Linked DNA regions of Homo sapiens: region 1 is linked to region 2. Evidence: promoter capture Hi-C in 16 types of primary human blood cells and fetal thymus (Javierre and others, 2016). All regions are on one chromosome and are shown on one strand. The core of a region is centred on a gene start or on the middle of the fragment in contact, and the rest is flanking DNA. Distances in the headings are between cores, read along the strand shown.

What was found. The method cuts DNA at HindIII sites, captures the fragments that hold promoters and counts their contacts. A CHiCAGO score of 5 or more calls a contact.
Region 1: a contact is called between a fragment that was not itself captured here and the fragment with the promoter of GORASP1 in region 2, in 8 of 17 cell types (activated CD4 T cells, total CD8 T cells, total B cells and 5 more). The highest score is 9.0, in activated CD4 T cells.

What each region holds. Positions count from the first base shown.
Region 1 is chr3:39,397,515-39,404,518 of GRCh38, forward strand. No RefSeq gene overlaps it. Among named protein-coding and RNA genes, the nearest start is that of RPSA, 5.7 kb to the right of the region's middle. RefSeq lists an enhancer at 6,549-7,004. The HindIII fragment of the contact is 499 bases long and covers 1,746-2,244 here.
Region 2 is chr3:39,102,342-39,109,650 of GRCh38, forward strand. It overlaps GORASP1 (golgi reassembly stacking protein 1), which reads right to left and starts at 5,286. Exons shown (of 9, transcript NM_031899.4): 1 at 5,138-5,286; 2 at 1,132-1,212; 3 at 337-540. The coding sequence starts at 5,200. TTC21A (tetratricopeptide repeat domain 21A) reads left to right here and starts at 5,339. Exons shown (of 29, transcript NM_001366900.1): 1 at 5,339-5,523; 2 at 6,744-6,873. The coding sequence starts at 5,497. RefSeq lists enhancers at 641-1,140, 819-868 and a silencer at 4,916-5,235. The HindIII fragment of the contact is 2,080 bases long and covers 4,249-6,328 here.

The sequences.
Region 1 (7,004 bases), core at 745-3,244, 290 kb after region 2:
TTTTCTGGATACTTCATATAAATGCAGTCTGTAGGCCGGGTGCGGTGGCTCAAGCCTGTAACCCCAGCACTTTGGGAGACCGAAGCGGGTGGATCACATGAGGTCAGGAGTTCAAGAGCAGCCTGGCCAACATGGTGAAACCCCGTCTCTACTAAAAATACAAACATTAGCTGGGCGTGGTGGCATGTGCCTGTAATCCCAGCTACTTGGGAGGCTGAGGCACGAGAATCACTTGAACCGAGGAGGCAGAGGTTAAAGTGAGCTGAAATCATGCCACTGCACTCCAGCCTGGGTGACAGAGTGAGACCCTGTCTCAAAAAACAAAAAAACAAAGTGACTATACCATTTTCCATTCTCAGCCACAGTATATGAGAGTTCCAATTTCTCCACATCCTTGTCAACACTTGTTATTATCTCTTTTATAGCTATTCTTATTGTGCACTCAAATCTTTTCTTGAAAATTCAGGAAAGATGGCCAGGCAAGGTGGCTCCTGCCTGTAATTCCAGCATTTTGGGAGGGTGAGGCAGGCAGATTACTTGAGGCCAGGAGTTCAAGATCAGCCTGGCCAAAACAGCAAAACCCCATCTCTACTAAAAATACAAAAATTAGCCAGGCATCGTGGGGCACGCCTGTAATTCTAGCTACTCAGGAGGCTGAGGCAGGAGAACCACTTGAACCCAGGAGATGCAGGTTGCAGATCACACCACTGCCCTCCAGTCTGGATGACAGAATGAGACTCCATATCAGAAAAAAAAAAATCAGGAAACAGCCATTACTTTATACAAGAAGCACAAGTTGGGGGGATATTTAGTCTTGTGGTTAAGAACATGGGCTCTAATCCAGGCAGCCCAGGTTGAAAGCTGCTTGCTCTCCACTACCTAGGCATGGCACTGAAACTATGCCTAGGAAATGGGGTTAGTTTGTTTTGGGGGTTTTTTAGGGGGCGGAGAACAAAGTGTCGCCCTGTTGCCCAGGCTGGAGTGCAATCGTGCAATCTCAGCTGACTGCAACCTCCACTCCTGGGTTCAAGCAATTCTCCCACCTCAGCCTTCCAAGTAGCTGGGACTACACGCTGGGCTAATTTTTTGTATTTTTAGTAGAGACAGGGTTTCACCATGCTGGCCAGGCTTGTCTTGAACTCTTGATCTCAAGTGATCCACCTGCCTCAGCCTCCCAGAGTGCTGGGATTACGGGTGTGAGCCAGCGCCCCCAGCCGGAAATAGGGTTAGTAATGTTTCCTGCCTCTTCAGGTGGTGGTGAGGGTTAATTAATAAATGTTTCTGAAATGTGGTATTAGCTTCATAGGACAGCCACAACAAGTTACCACAGTCAGAATGGTTTATAACTCAATCTGGAGGCCAGAAGTCTGAAATCAATGTGTCAGCAGCATTGCACCTCTGAAGGCTCTAGGAGAGTCATGCTTTGTCTGTTGCACCTTCTAGTGGTGGCTAGCATTCCTTGGCTTGTAAAAACATCACTCTAATCTCTGCCTGTCTTCACATGCCTTTTCCCTTGTGTATCTGTTTCTCTCTATGTTAGACCCTATTTCCAAATAGGGTCACATTCGCAGGTATTAGGGGTTAGAACGCCAATATATCTTTTGGGGGGACACAATTCAACCCACAACACAGATTAAGCTGATGTATAAGTTAAAATCAGTTTATACTTTAGGCTTTAGGTTAAAACACCATATTTAAAATAGTAATTTGGGTAGGGGTGTGGGAGAGGATGAAGCAGGGTCCTAAGCTTACAGTGGCACCCAAGCCTCCAATGCTGTGACCTGTGTGTTGTGAGGCCTCGTGCTGTAGGAAGCAGGGGAGAGGTCAGGATGGGAAAGGAGAGAAGGGAGGGACAGTTGGATGGAGTGGCTGCTTCCTAAGAACTTAGACTCTGGAGTAGGTGTTCCATGTCCCTTGCCTCCTCAGCCTCCTTTGACCCTCATCCTGAGTGCAGGGAACCTAATGCCAGTGAGGACTCTTAGGGAGGAGGGGCAGAGATAAGGCCGAGAGAGTTGGGCTTCTTCCCAATGCGAATTTCCTGGCCTCACATTGGCAGATGAATTTCTGCCACCAGATTCCCCCTCACATTTTCTTCATTTGTTTTTTAGGGGAGCAAATAAATATGATAAAATCAGGAGAAATCATCTAGTTTTCTCTAAACATGAGGTAGAAAATTTGTCTTTGTGAATCTCGAGTCCTGCGGCAAGTAGCCTGTTTTTTCCTCTCTCACAGTCTCAGTATTAAAGCTTGGAAAGCAATTGGCTAGTGAGCGTTAGCTGGCTTTGGAAGCATTGCCCACTTTTTTTTTTTTTTGAGACAGAGTCTTGCTCTGTTGCCCAGGCTAGAGTGCAGTGGTATGATCTTGGCTCGCTGCAACCTCCGCCTCCCGGGTTCAAGCGATTCTCCTGCCTCAGCCTCCCAAATAGCTGGGATTACAGGTACCTGCCACCGCGCCCGGCTAATTTTTGTATTTTTTAGTAGAAACGAGGTTTCACCATCTTGGCCAGGCTGGTCTCGAACTCCTGACCTCATGATCCATCCGCCTTGGCCTCCCAAAGTGCTGGGATTACAGGTGTGAGCCACCACATTGGCCTTTTTTTTTTTTTAAATGGTTCCTTCTTGGCTGCCTTAGACTTATTAAAGCACATTAGAGGTGGGGCTCTGTGGGAGAAAAATAGTCAGATGGTGACTAAAGATAAGGCAGTGTAGGGCTAAAGCCAAAAGAAGACACAGAAGCAAAGGTTTCAAGCTGTATTACACTCACTTTCTAAGAATACATGATTATGAAATCTTTCAAGCCATCACAATAGGAAAGCCAATGGTCTACTGGCCCTTCATTCATATCGCTCAGATGGAGCAATTGCCAAGATTTTGCCACACTTGCTTCTCTCCCCTAACTGTGTCCCCTGCTCCTGCCACTCCTTTTTCTTTTTTTTTTCTTTTTTTTTTTTTTGAGACGGAGTCTCGCTCTGTCACCCAGGCTGGAGTGCAGTAGCGCAGTCTCGGCTCACTGCAAGCTCTGCCTCCTGGGTTCACGCCATTCTTCTGCCTCAGCTTCCCGAGTAGCTGGGACTACAGGCGCCAGCCACCACGACTGGGTAATTTTTTTTTATTTTTAGTAGAGATGGGGTTTCACTGTGTTAGCCAGGATGGTCTCGATCTCCTGACCTCGTGATCCACCTGCCTCGGCCTCTCAAAGTGCTGGGATTACAGGTGTGAGCCACCACGCCTGGCCTCCTTTTTCTTTTATGAAGCTTTTAGAGACAGATCCCAGACATCATATAATTTCACCCTTGCTTACTTCAATATGCATCTCTTAAAAATTATGGACTTTTTTTTAACATAAGTATGTCATTACCCCACCTGGAAAAATTTAACACATTTTTTGCATATCATCCATATTCACATTTCCCAGACTGTCCCAACAATGATTTTTTACAGTTGGTTTATTTCAATTAGAATTCAAACAAGGTCCATACAAGGCATTTGGTCTTTTATTGATGTTTTAGAAACAAGGTCTTGCTCGTCACCCAGGATGCAGTGCAGTGGTATGATCATGGTTCACTGCAACCTTGAACTTCTAGGCTCAAGCCATCCTCCCACCTCAGCCTCCCAAGTAGCTGGGACTACAGGTGCACGCCACCACACCCAGCCAGTTTTTAAAAAATTTTTTTGCAGAGACAAGATCTCGCAATGTTGCCCAGGCTGGTCTCAAACTCCTAGCCTCAAGTGATCCTCCAGCCTCAGCCTCCCAAAGGATTGGGATTACAGGTATGAGCCACCACACTTTGCCGGCAGTTGGTTTTGAAAATCTCTAGGCTGGGCACAGTGGCTCATGCCTGTAGGCCCAGCCCTTTGGAAAGCCAAGGCTGATAGATCGCTTGAGCCCAGTAGTTTGAGACCAGCCTAGGCAACATAGTCAAACTCTGTCTCTACAGAAAAATTTAAAAATTTGCCAGGTGTGGTGAGGCACATCTGTAGTCCCAGCTACTCAGAAGGCTGAGGCAGGAGAATCACTTAAGCCCTGAAAGTCAAGGCTGCAGTGAGCCGTGATCAGGCCACTGCACTCCAGCCCAGGTGACAGAGCAAAGCCCTGTCTCAAAAAAAAACCTCTTTATTCCAGGACACCACCATTCTCCCCAATTTTTTTGTTCTACATTGTCTTTGTAGGGACTGAGGGGACGGGGGAACAAGACAAAGTTAGAGGAAACTTGATTCTGAAGCAGTGTCTAAGGCCTCTCTTGGCATATCAAAGGGCTAGTCTTTGAGGTAACACATCCTCAGCCCCAGTATCCTGTAAAATGTCCCATTTTCTGAATTTGTTTTCTGATGGTTTTAGCTCATTTCTGTTTCACACATGTTCTATAAACTGGATGTTACCTTGGATGGCTTGATTACATTTAGGTCTATCCAATTTCTTAGGCAAAGGAAAGACCAGAGCTATAGATTCTAAGTGGTAGAAAGTCTGAAAAGGCATACGAGGGTCTCTCACTTAGCAAATGAGTGAGTGCAAATGAAACGTTCTATTCACTTCATTCAGTTACTTCCTCCCAAGAGAAATGAGGAGAGGCTGAAATTTCTTTAACCAGCAGTTAGAAAGGATAAATAATTTTGAGGCAAACCAAGGTTAGAGTGAGTCAGTTCTGAGGGCCCAATCAAGACAGGGAACCCAGCACTGACTCTGGGAGGTTGCAAAACTGAAACCTGCTCACCAAGGTTATGCCTTATGCCCCTTCCATATACTTCTGGCTGAGCAGTGCATTTATAACTTGTTGGGTTTTTTGTTTTTTTGAGACAGGGTCTCACTCTATTCCACAGGCTGGAGTACACTGGCAATCTCAGCTCACTGCTCTCAGCTCACTGCAGCCTCGACCTCCCAGGCTCAAGCAATCCTCCCACCTCAGCCTCCCAAGTAGCTGGGACTACAGGCATGCATTACCACACCCAGCTAATATTTTTGTATTTTTAGTAGAGACAGGGTTTCGCCATGTTGCCCAGGCTAGTCTCGAACTCCTGGGCTCAAGGGATCTGCCCACCTCAGCCTCCCAAAGTGCTGGGATTACAGGTGTGTGTCATCACGCCTGGCCTTCTAACTTATTGTTGATATTAAATGTAACAACCAGGCTGGGCACGGTGGCTTATGCCTATAATCCCAGCCCTTCGGGAGGCTGAGGCGGGCAGATCACAAGGTCAGGAGTTCGAGACTAGCCTGACCAACATGGTGAAAACCTATCTCTACTAAAAATACAAAAATTAGCTGGGCATGGTGGCACGCGCCTGTAATCCCAGTTACTTGGGAGGCCAAGGCAGGAGAATCGTTTGAACCTGGGAGGCAGAGGTTGCAGTGAGCTGAGATCATGCCATTGCACACCAGAGGGAGACTCTGTCTCAAAAAATAAATAAATACATTTAACAAGCAGCAGGGCACAGTGGGTCACACCTATAATCCCAGCACTTTGGGAGGCCAAGGCCAGTGAGATCACTTGAGGTCAGGAGTTCAAGACCATCCTGGCCAACATGGCAAAGCCCTGTCTCTACTAAAATTACAAAAAATCAGCCAGATGTAGTGGTGTGCACCTGTAGTCCCAGCTATTCGGGTAGCTGAGGCACAAGAATTGCTTGAATCTGGGAGGCAGAGGTTGCAGTGAGTTGCAATTGCACCACTGCACTCCAGCCTGGGAGACAGCAACTCTGTCTCAAAAAAAAAAACAAAAAAAAGAAGAAGAAGAAAAAAAAATTTAACAATCCACTGTGTCTTAAATTTCAGCTTTTGTCACCACTCCCTCCAAAAAAAGGTGCCTCAATGCAACAGCCTCTAGGTAGAACTAGCTTCTAAGTTCTTCTCTGCTCCTGGGAGCCATTAGCTTAGGTAGTCAGGAAATACCCTAGGCCGGGTGCAGTGGCTCATGCCTGTAATCCTAGCACTTCGGGAGGCCGAGGCGGGCTGATCACTTGAGGTAAGGAGTTCAAGACCAGCCTGGCCGACAAAGCAAAACCCTGTCTCTACCAAAAATACAAAAACTGGCCAGATGTGGTGGTGCGGGCCTGTAGTCCCAGCTACTCGGGAGGCTGAAGCTGGAGAATTGCTTGAGCCTGGGAGCAGAGGTTGCAGTGAGCTGAGATCACACTACTGCACTCCAGCCTGGGTGACAGAATGAGACTGTCTCAAAAAAAAAAAAATTACATAAAATAAAGAAGAAATACTCTAGAGTCTAGGATCGTGGTTTTTAAACTCAATATGGCTGCACATTGGAATCATCTGGAAAATGTTGGGGCTCAGAAAATGATACCCCTGACTGAATAAGGCACTTTGGCATGCTGCATGCTTTGAATTAAAGAAAATTGAAAGGCTTCTGAAATAGCGTCAGAACCAAGGTTTCTTTCTGACCTTCCCCTAACCCCATCTCTCAATCCCCTTTTCCCAAAGCATCCGGAGGGGCTTTGTCTGAAGTTCCCTTATCTGAATAAGGTAGGTTCCTCCAGAATAAAATACAATAGTCTTAAAACTTCCTCCCTAAGAATCTCATCAGGTAACCAGGAAATATTAACCACTGGGAAGAGAAAAGACTAAAAGTCATCACCATGCCCAGACAGACTCTTCATCTATTTTTCTGAGGGCAGCTTTTGAGAGATTTTCCAGGAGACATTATTTGCCTAATAAGGCAACCTTTGGTCACAGTGAAGTTCCTCCCCTTACCCTTTGCTGCTGTTTCCCCCAGAGCTCACAGGAACTTTGTCTCAGGCAAATTTTCTGTTCTTTGAACTCATTCCTATCCTTCCAAAAATCACTTACTAGCCCTCTAAATTGTTTACCATCCCATCTCCCTTCCCTGTGAAGTAGATGCTATTTAAGCTTCAGCCATCTGGCCCTTCTTTGAGTCTTATATTTCGTGTGGCTCCTGTGCATAAGCACATTAATAAATGTGTATGTTTGGCCTGGTGTGGTGGCTCACGCCTGTAATCCCAGCACTTTGGGAGGCCGAGGTGGGCAGATAACCTGAGGT
Region 2 (7,309 bases), core at 4,036-6,535:
CAGAGAATAATAAAAGCAGCAGCATTCCAGCAGTCCAACCACCATTCCAGTAGATGATATTTCTACCTTTCAAATTAAGTAACCTAGGTATAGAAGGTAAGAAAGTACCCAAAGTCATGGCTAACAGGAAGCAAGATACACTGTTCAGGTAGTAATGAGCTGCCCTCTCTGGGACACTGGAATGAGACCACATCCTGCCCTCAGTCTTCCCTGGCCACTGCTCCAAGGCTCCCACTCCACTCCTGCATGTACCCCCTCACACCCCGCCCACACCCAGACCTGCCCCAGTAAACTCATCCTTCCGACACACCCTGCCCTGCCATACCCCACACTCACCAGCACATGCCACACCTGCTCACTGGCCCTGCGGAAGCTGCAGAAGCGCACACTGGCACCCAGTAGGCCCTGGCCGCCCCACATGTTGCTGGGCACCACCTCCACCTCGCGCACCCTCATGGTCTTCATATTGAACACCTCCAGCTTCACGGGCTTCTCCACATTGGCTTTCAGTAGTGCCTTCAGGGTGTCATTCTCCTTGTTCTGTGGGGGCAATGGGGCTGACTCCAAGGCCACCTCATGCCCAGGCTAGGACCCTCAGACAAGTCTGGGCCTGAGATGGGGCAAGGGCCTTAGTGGGCAGCAGCCCTCAGCAGGGTCACTGTGGGGATGGGCCAAGGTAGTGGATGGGCCAGGTTCACAGACCAGGGTTGAGCCTGCAGCCACTGGGACCCCCACCTTCCCCAAGCACTGCCAAACCTTCCTCAGCCTGCCAGAAAAAACAAAGCAAGCAAAAAGCCTCCCAGATCCACAGCATTCCAGTGCTGCCCCACTCTGAGCTGCCCCTTGGCCAGGGCCCTCATATCCCTCATGCCCCAGGAGGCAGGCCCCTTGGGCCTTGTTGCCACCTCCAAGAGGCCATATGTCCTCTGTCCACCCCACAGAGCTCAGAAGCTGAGCACTGGGCAGGGCCCCAGTCAGGCTCTGAGTACAGCCCTGGAAGAAGGGGAGACAGGGCTGGGACTCCCTTTAGAAAAAAAGGGAGGGAAGGGTAGACTGGGGCCCCCTGTGGGACAGATGAAGACACACAAACACACATAAGCAAGCAAAGCAGAGGCAGGTTGGGGAACTCACCAGCCTCGAGTGCCCAATGGTGATGATGAAGTCAAAGTAGGGCTCCAGGCCCGCCTGCTGGGCTGGGGAGTTCTCCTGCACCTATCCCACAGCAAAGACCACAGTCACTGCGCCAACCCTGGGACTCTCCAAGTAGCCCTCTCCCCCATTTCAGGAACCATCAGCACTCCCAGTGTGCCAGCCAGAACACATGTCTGGCATGAACTGTTCCGGACATTCTCAGGGTTCACTCCATGGCCTCTTGCTACCTTCCTGGGCACAAATTTTCCTCTTAGGAAAATGGCTCCTTCCTGATTATGATCCACAGATGCTTTCAGAAATGGCTCACAGCCCAGGACATCCTTAGGGGCTCCCAGGAGGCAATATGGAGACAGGCTGGCCCAGGCCTGTGGGAATGCTGCTCTAGAGGGCTAGGCTAGGGTTGGCCGGAAAGCCAAAAGGGTTTACCAGAAAGGTTTAGACTGGACCAGAAGGGAGGGCCCTGACGTGCAGTGGAAGTGGGCAGGCCTCGGGAGGGATACACCCAGGGCTGTACCCAGAAAGAGGGAGTGGGAAAAGCAGCTTGCAGCCAGGTCCCAGCTTGCACCCCAGCCTCTGGGGTGGGAGACCCAGGCTCAGTCCAGCAGGTAATGAAAGCCACTGGCAGAGAAGCAGACCCCAGGGGTAGAACTAGGCCTGAGCCAGGGAGCCCAGTGAGTGGGCAGTGCCAATCCCCACAGCCTGGCTCTGGACTGAGGAGCCCCCCAGTGGCTCAGCTGCCCTACCAGCCTCATAGTGTAGCCTCCATGCCTGTGCAGGACACCTCCTCCAGGAAGCATTCCCATTTCCAGGGTGCTCCCTGCCCCTCCCTGAACTCCCCACCTCACTGCTGTCTCCAAAAGCACAACAACCAGGCTTTGCAGGCTGTGGCAGAAATCCATCCCAAAAGCCCCATATACAGAGCCTGGCTTAAACAATGCAGGCTTTGTCCCAAGGCCCTAGACCCGAAGATGGGCCCACACCCTCAGGTCTTTGGCTGCGGGCATTTGATAACCTGTTGGCGTAGACACCAGCCAGACCCAGCCCAGAGGGCACAGGACCTAGGCTCTTGCTGCCTCCTCATGGGAAAGGCCCTGTGGCTCCTGCTACATACCAGCCCCTCCAGGTTTGGATTCCCCAACCTGAAGGAGAGCTCATGAAGACTAGGCTGAGAACAAACCGCTGAGATCAAGGCCAGTTTGCCCCTGGAATTAGGATTCCCTTCTGGCAGCATCACCAACTGAGCCCCTCCTTATCACCTCCAGAAGCTGCCATGGCTTCCAAAGGGAGTGAGTGCGGCCCAGAAATCAGATCTGGGCCTAGTTGGCCTGGCCCAGTAGGCAAGCTGCTCCCAGGCCCCGCTGCAGGGGAGCTCTGGGCCCTGCCCTCTAACCCTTCAGGTGAGGGGATCTTTCGAAAACCACAGGACAGGACAGTTATTCAGGAATAGCTTGGGGACAATGCCCCTCCCTAATCAGGGCCACCTCCAAATCACTCCACGTCAGGTGCCTGCCTACTTCCCTCCCCACTCCCCAGTATTGCATGTCAGCTGCTCTCCATCATGAATGAGGTCCAGAGGGTCAGGCCCCAGGCCTGGCCTCCTTGACCCACCCAATACCTCCACCACCCTCTCCTGTGGCTTTGTCCTCTGCTTGGCTACACTCCACTTCTCTCACCTGGGGCCTCATCACTACTCACTATGGCTCCGCAGCTGAAATAATCTATGCTGCTGCCCACTGTACGGCTCCCCCTGCAGAAACCACTGCCTGCCATCCAGCTCCCTCAGGGGCTCCCATCACAGCCTGCCCCAAGGCCCTATAGTGCTGCTTTTCCTCATGCTCCCACCCTATTTTTCCCAATCAGGGAACCTAATGGAACTCACAGTGATCACAACTTACACTTACTAAGGGCTGGTTGGCTGAGTGCCAGGGCATGGCACCACCTCACCTGCTTTATGTGTCATTTAACCTTTTTAATAACCTCAAATGACAAATGAGACCAAGTACTCAATAATTCAGTAATTTGACCCCAGGAAATCCAACCCAGAGCCCTCCCCCTAACCACTGCCCTCTCCTAACAGCTGTTTCCTGGTGAATCTGCCACTACTCTAAGCTCGCTGAGGGCAGCGACTTCTCCAAAGTATTGGGCACGCAGCGAGGTGCCAATATTTCTAGAATGCAGCACAGCTGTTCTTCAGTGTTGTTAAAGGTAAGTAGGTCATGTCACTCCTCCATTTAAAACCTCCTGATGGTTTTACATCTCAGAATAAAATCTTAAATCTTCAGGACAACAGGCAAGGTCCTACACGGTCTGCTCTGGTCTCCTCCTCACACTGGCCACACCATCCAAGCACACCAGCCTCACCTGGCATTTCCTCAAACACACAAGCACAACCTACCTCGGGGCCTCTGCACAAGCTGGTCCTTCTGCCTGGAATACTACTATTCCCCTAAATATCTGTATTGTCCACTCTTTACTTCCTTCAGAAGCATCTGTTCGAATGTGACTTGAGAAGAGGCCCTTCCTGACCACTCTATCAAAAATAGCACCCACTCACCATTCTGTATCCCCTTAACCTGCTTTATTTTTATCACTGGTAATTACCACCTACCATGTATTTTTTCATTTCCCTTCTTTCCCTACCATCATCCAAATGTCAGCTCCAGAACAGGGACCATGTTTGTTCTGTTCACTGCTTTATCTCTAGAGCCTTAGAATTCTGCCTGCCAGAGTAGGAGCTCAAAACTTTGTTTTTGTGACTGACAACCTCTGATCCCTGGTCCCTCTCCAATTTGTCCCTCTCCATCAGGCAGGCCCCTCCCGTCTTCGAAGCTCCCATCATCGCCCCACCCCTCCTCTTGCCAATATCCTGAGTTCCTTTGCCTTTAATCAAACCTGTTGGAAGACGCTCCTGGCTGGATGCATTCCACTGTCCACGCTTGCTGTTTGGTGTCTCACCATAAGAAAGCCCATTCCCAAGCACAAATCCTGTCAACTCTGGGTTCTCCAAGCCAGCCTGGTTTTCACGTTAAGAAACTTTTAGCCCTCTCATGTGGTTAGCTGGCAACAGACCCTACCTTCAAAACACACAAACCGACAAGCTTGCCTGTCTCCACTCATCTCTGCATCCAGCTGCCTTTCACTAGGGAAAGGGGGGGTGCAGGGACGCCTCTTCCCCGCAGCGCTCCGGGGTCAGAGACCCCCAGCCCCTCTCACCTACATTATAGCCCTTCCCTCACCGCAGGCACAAATCTCCATCCGGCTGCGGGACCCTCTCCTCACCCTCACAGCACACTCCGTTCTAGGAACCCCACTCCGTCTCCACTCTCCGGAAGCCTGCTCGCCCAGACCTCCATGTAGCGGCATCTAAAGGCTGGGACCCTCCCCAGCTGCAAACGCTCTCCTCGAGGATTCTGCAGCACTCTCCCGGCCCTCCCGCTCCCCACTATCCCGTGGCTGGTTTGCACCGGTCCTCTACCCTCGGAAGCCCTTACGACCCTACGACTGGCAGGACGCGCGCCGACGGGCTCCCCCGCAGCTGCGTCCACTCGGTTAACCCCGGCCCCCGGGACTGTCCTCGGCGTGGCTGACTCTCTTCCCAGGCCCAGCACGGAGAGCGGCCCGCGGCAGGCGAGCGTAAATGTGTGCTAAGTGCACGAGTGCGTCCCGACTGGTAGTGGTGCATTCTTCACCCGGGAGGAGCGCCATTCCCGGCGGCCGGACCAGGAAAACGCTCCGCTTCCGGCACTGCTGGCACTTGGGGCGGGCGCTGGGCCCGACCGCGGCCGCGGACTAGCCAGGGTCCGGGAGTCCCGCGAGGCCGCCTCTCCCAGGAGGCTCCCACCGGGCAGGGGGCACCTCCCGCCACCCAGGCGGAAACACTCGGGCCGGGACCCCGCCGCAGTCGCCAGCCAGCCGGCGACCGGACGCCCGGGCGCGGGGTTGCGGGCGCCTCGCCAAGGTCACCGGCGCCGCGGCGGCAACTCACCCCGTGGAGGTGGAAGCCCTCGGCGCCGCCTGCGGGCTGCTCAGCGCTGACGCCCAGGCCCATGGCAGCGGCTCCGCTCGGCACCCAGGTCCAGTCCCGCTGCGCCTACCCGGACCGACCCGACGCCAGTAGCACCGACTCGCTCTCTCGGCGCTCGATTCCTGCGCCTTGTGACGTGAGGCGTTTTGTTCCTCCCACTCCAGACACTGGACGCTCCTAGCAACCGGCTAGCAGCTCGGTTTCCAAGGACTGTAACGCCTTCAACCGCCCGCCGCGATAGAGTGCCCACGACCCTGCCTCGGGAATCCCGCTCTGCACCGCCCCACCAGACCCGGACTCGGAGCCGCGAGCGGCCCGAGATGAGCAGCAATGACTCCTCCCTTATGGTGCGTGGCCCGGGCGCTGTCCGAGGGCTCCCTCGTGACTCCCCGCCCCTGACCCAGAGACCGTCTGCCCTGCTACTCTCCTGCCACCCTTCGCTGTCCTCAGTTATATCAGGCGGTCCTGCCTTTTCTTGCCCCACTCCCCCTGGCAAGGGCGTCTTCTCCGGTGGCTTCTGCGCACCCTGAGCCCCAAATTAGCATCCCCGTTTCTTGAGCTACCCCAAACCAGCTCATCCAATCACTATCATTATCCCTTCTTGTCATCATCCCTTCTTCCACCCAGCTCACTCTCGCCTGCGCCTCCCACCCCAGTTGATGGCTTCACCATTTAATCTCCTAGCCTTAACTCATACCTCTTCCCTATACTCATCTTCTAATCCTGTCTACAAGAAATGCCAGCTCCTTGATGTCTCCTGGGTTTTCTTTTTATCTTTTTATCTTCTAGCCCAGAACCAGCACCATCTCTCCCCCCTGAGAGCCTGCAACAGCCTCCCTCCCATCTGGTTTCTCTGCTGTGGCTCTTTTCAGCATCAGTAGTCCCTGCTGCCACCACGGCACACACCCCCCACATGCAAAAGCAGCCAGAGTGGTTGTTGCAAAAATGTACATCTGAAAACATCCCTCGCCTTAAAACCATTCTGCTTTCTGTTACCCTTAGGATGGTGTCTGGGCTCTTTCATATGGCCCATGAGGATGTTTACAGTCCAACCACATCTGCTCCCAACCTAGCACCCACAAACCTTAGAGGAAGTGAAACTTAACTTTAAAATCTCAGCCCCTTTGTCAAGCTGTAGTTTCCATGGGCTTAAGCTTCCTTAGCTGTGAAAGATACTGAGAGGACCATGCACAGGATAGTGGATATGAAGCCCACAATAACTTGTAACTACAATTCGTATAATTTTTCTTATTATTTGTCCTCATTTTTCCCCCCTTATTCCCTTCCTAAGACAAAGCCTTGGTTGAATTCCCCATCATAGTTGAACCAGAATCTGTTGGTAATCCCCCAAACAAACACCTCCAAACTCTTTCCTGGGAAAACTGCATGGAGCTGCTCCCAGGGCTGTTAGAGGACAGGATGAGGCCTGAATGTTTCCTCTTTCTCTTCCCTTTGCAGAACTGAGGAGGAGCAGGGGATAGGGAAGGGAGCAGGTCTCATCCCATCTGGGACAGAACAGAGACAGAGAAGGGACTGGGCTATTGCAGTTATGTCTTCCTTCATACAGGCTGGGATCATTTACTATAGCCAGGAAAAGTACTTCCACCATGTGCAGCAGGCTGCAGCTGTGGGCCTGGAAAAATTCAGCAATGACCCTGTGTTGAAGTTCTTTAAAGCCTATGGAGTCCTCAAAGAAGGTAAGGACTTGGCAGTGTTGGTCTTGTGACCCCAGGCACTAGCTGGGCCCTAACACTCTGGCTCCACCTGGATGCCTTCTTGTATCCTAGTTATGGTCCCATAAAAACAGTTTCACACTCAGCGGCTGGATTCCCACGGGAATCCACAGAGGCCTACGTAATCCATATCTAGTTGACTTTTGAGACCTCAGAGCGCTGACTATCCCTGCTCTGCACCTCGGGTTCCCTCTCTGTAAAATGAGTGGTTGGAGAGATAGCTGCATGATTCTTGAAGTAATTCCAGGCCTGGAAGCTGAGAACTGGTAATGCAGGCAAAGGAGGGGGAAGAGGTAGGTGTGAGGACAGGTGGGTATGGTACAGGTACAGGGAGAGGAGTGAGACCCATGCAGGTGCAGATGGGCTGACATTCAGAAGGTGGTCCTAGGCTGAGGACTGG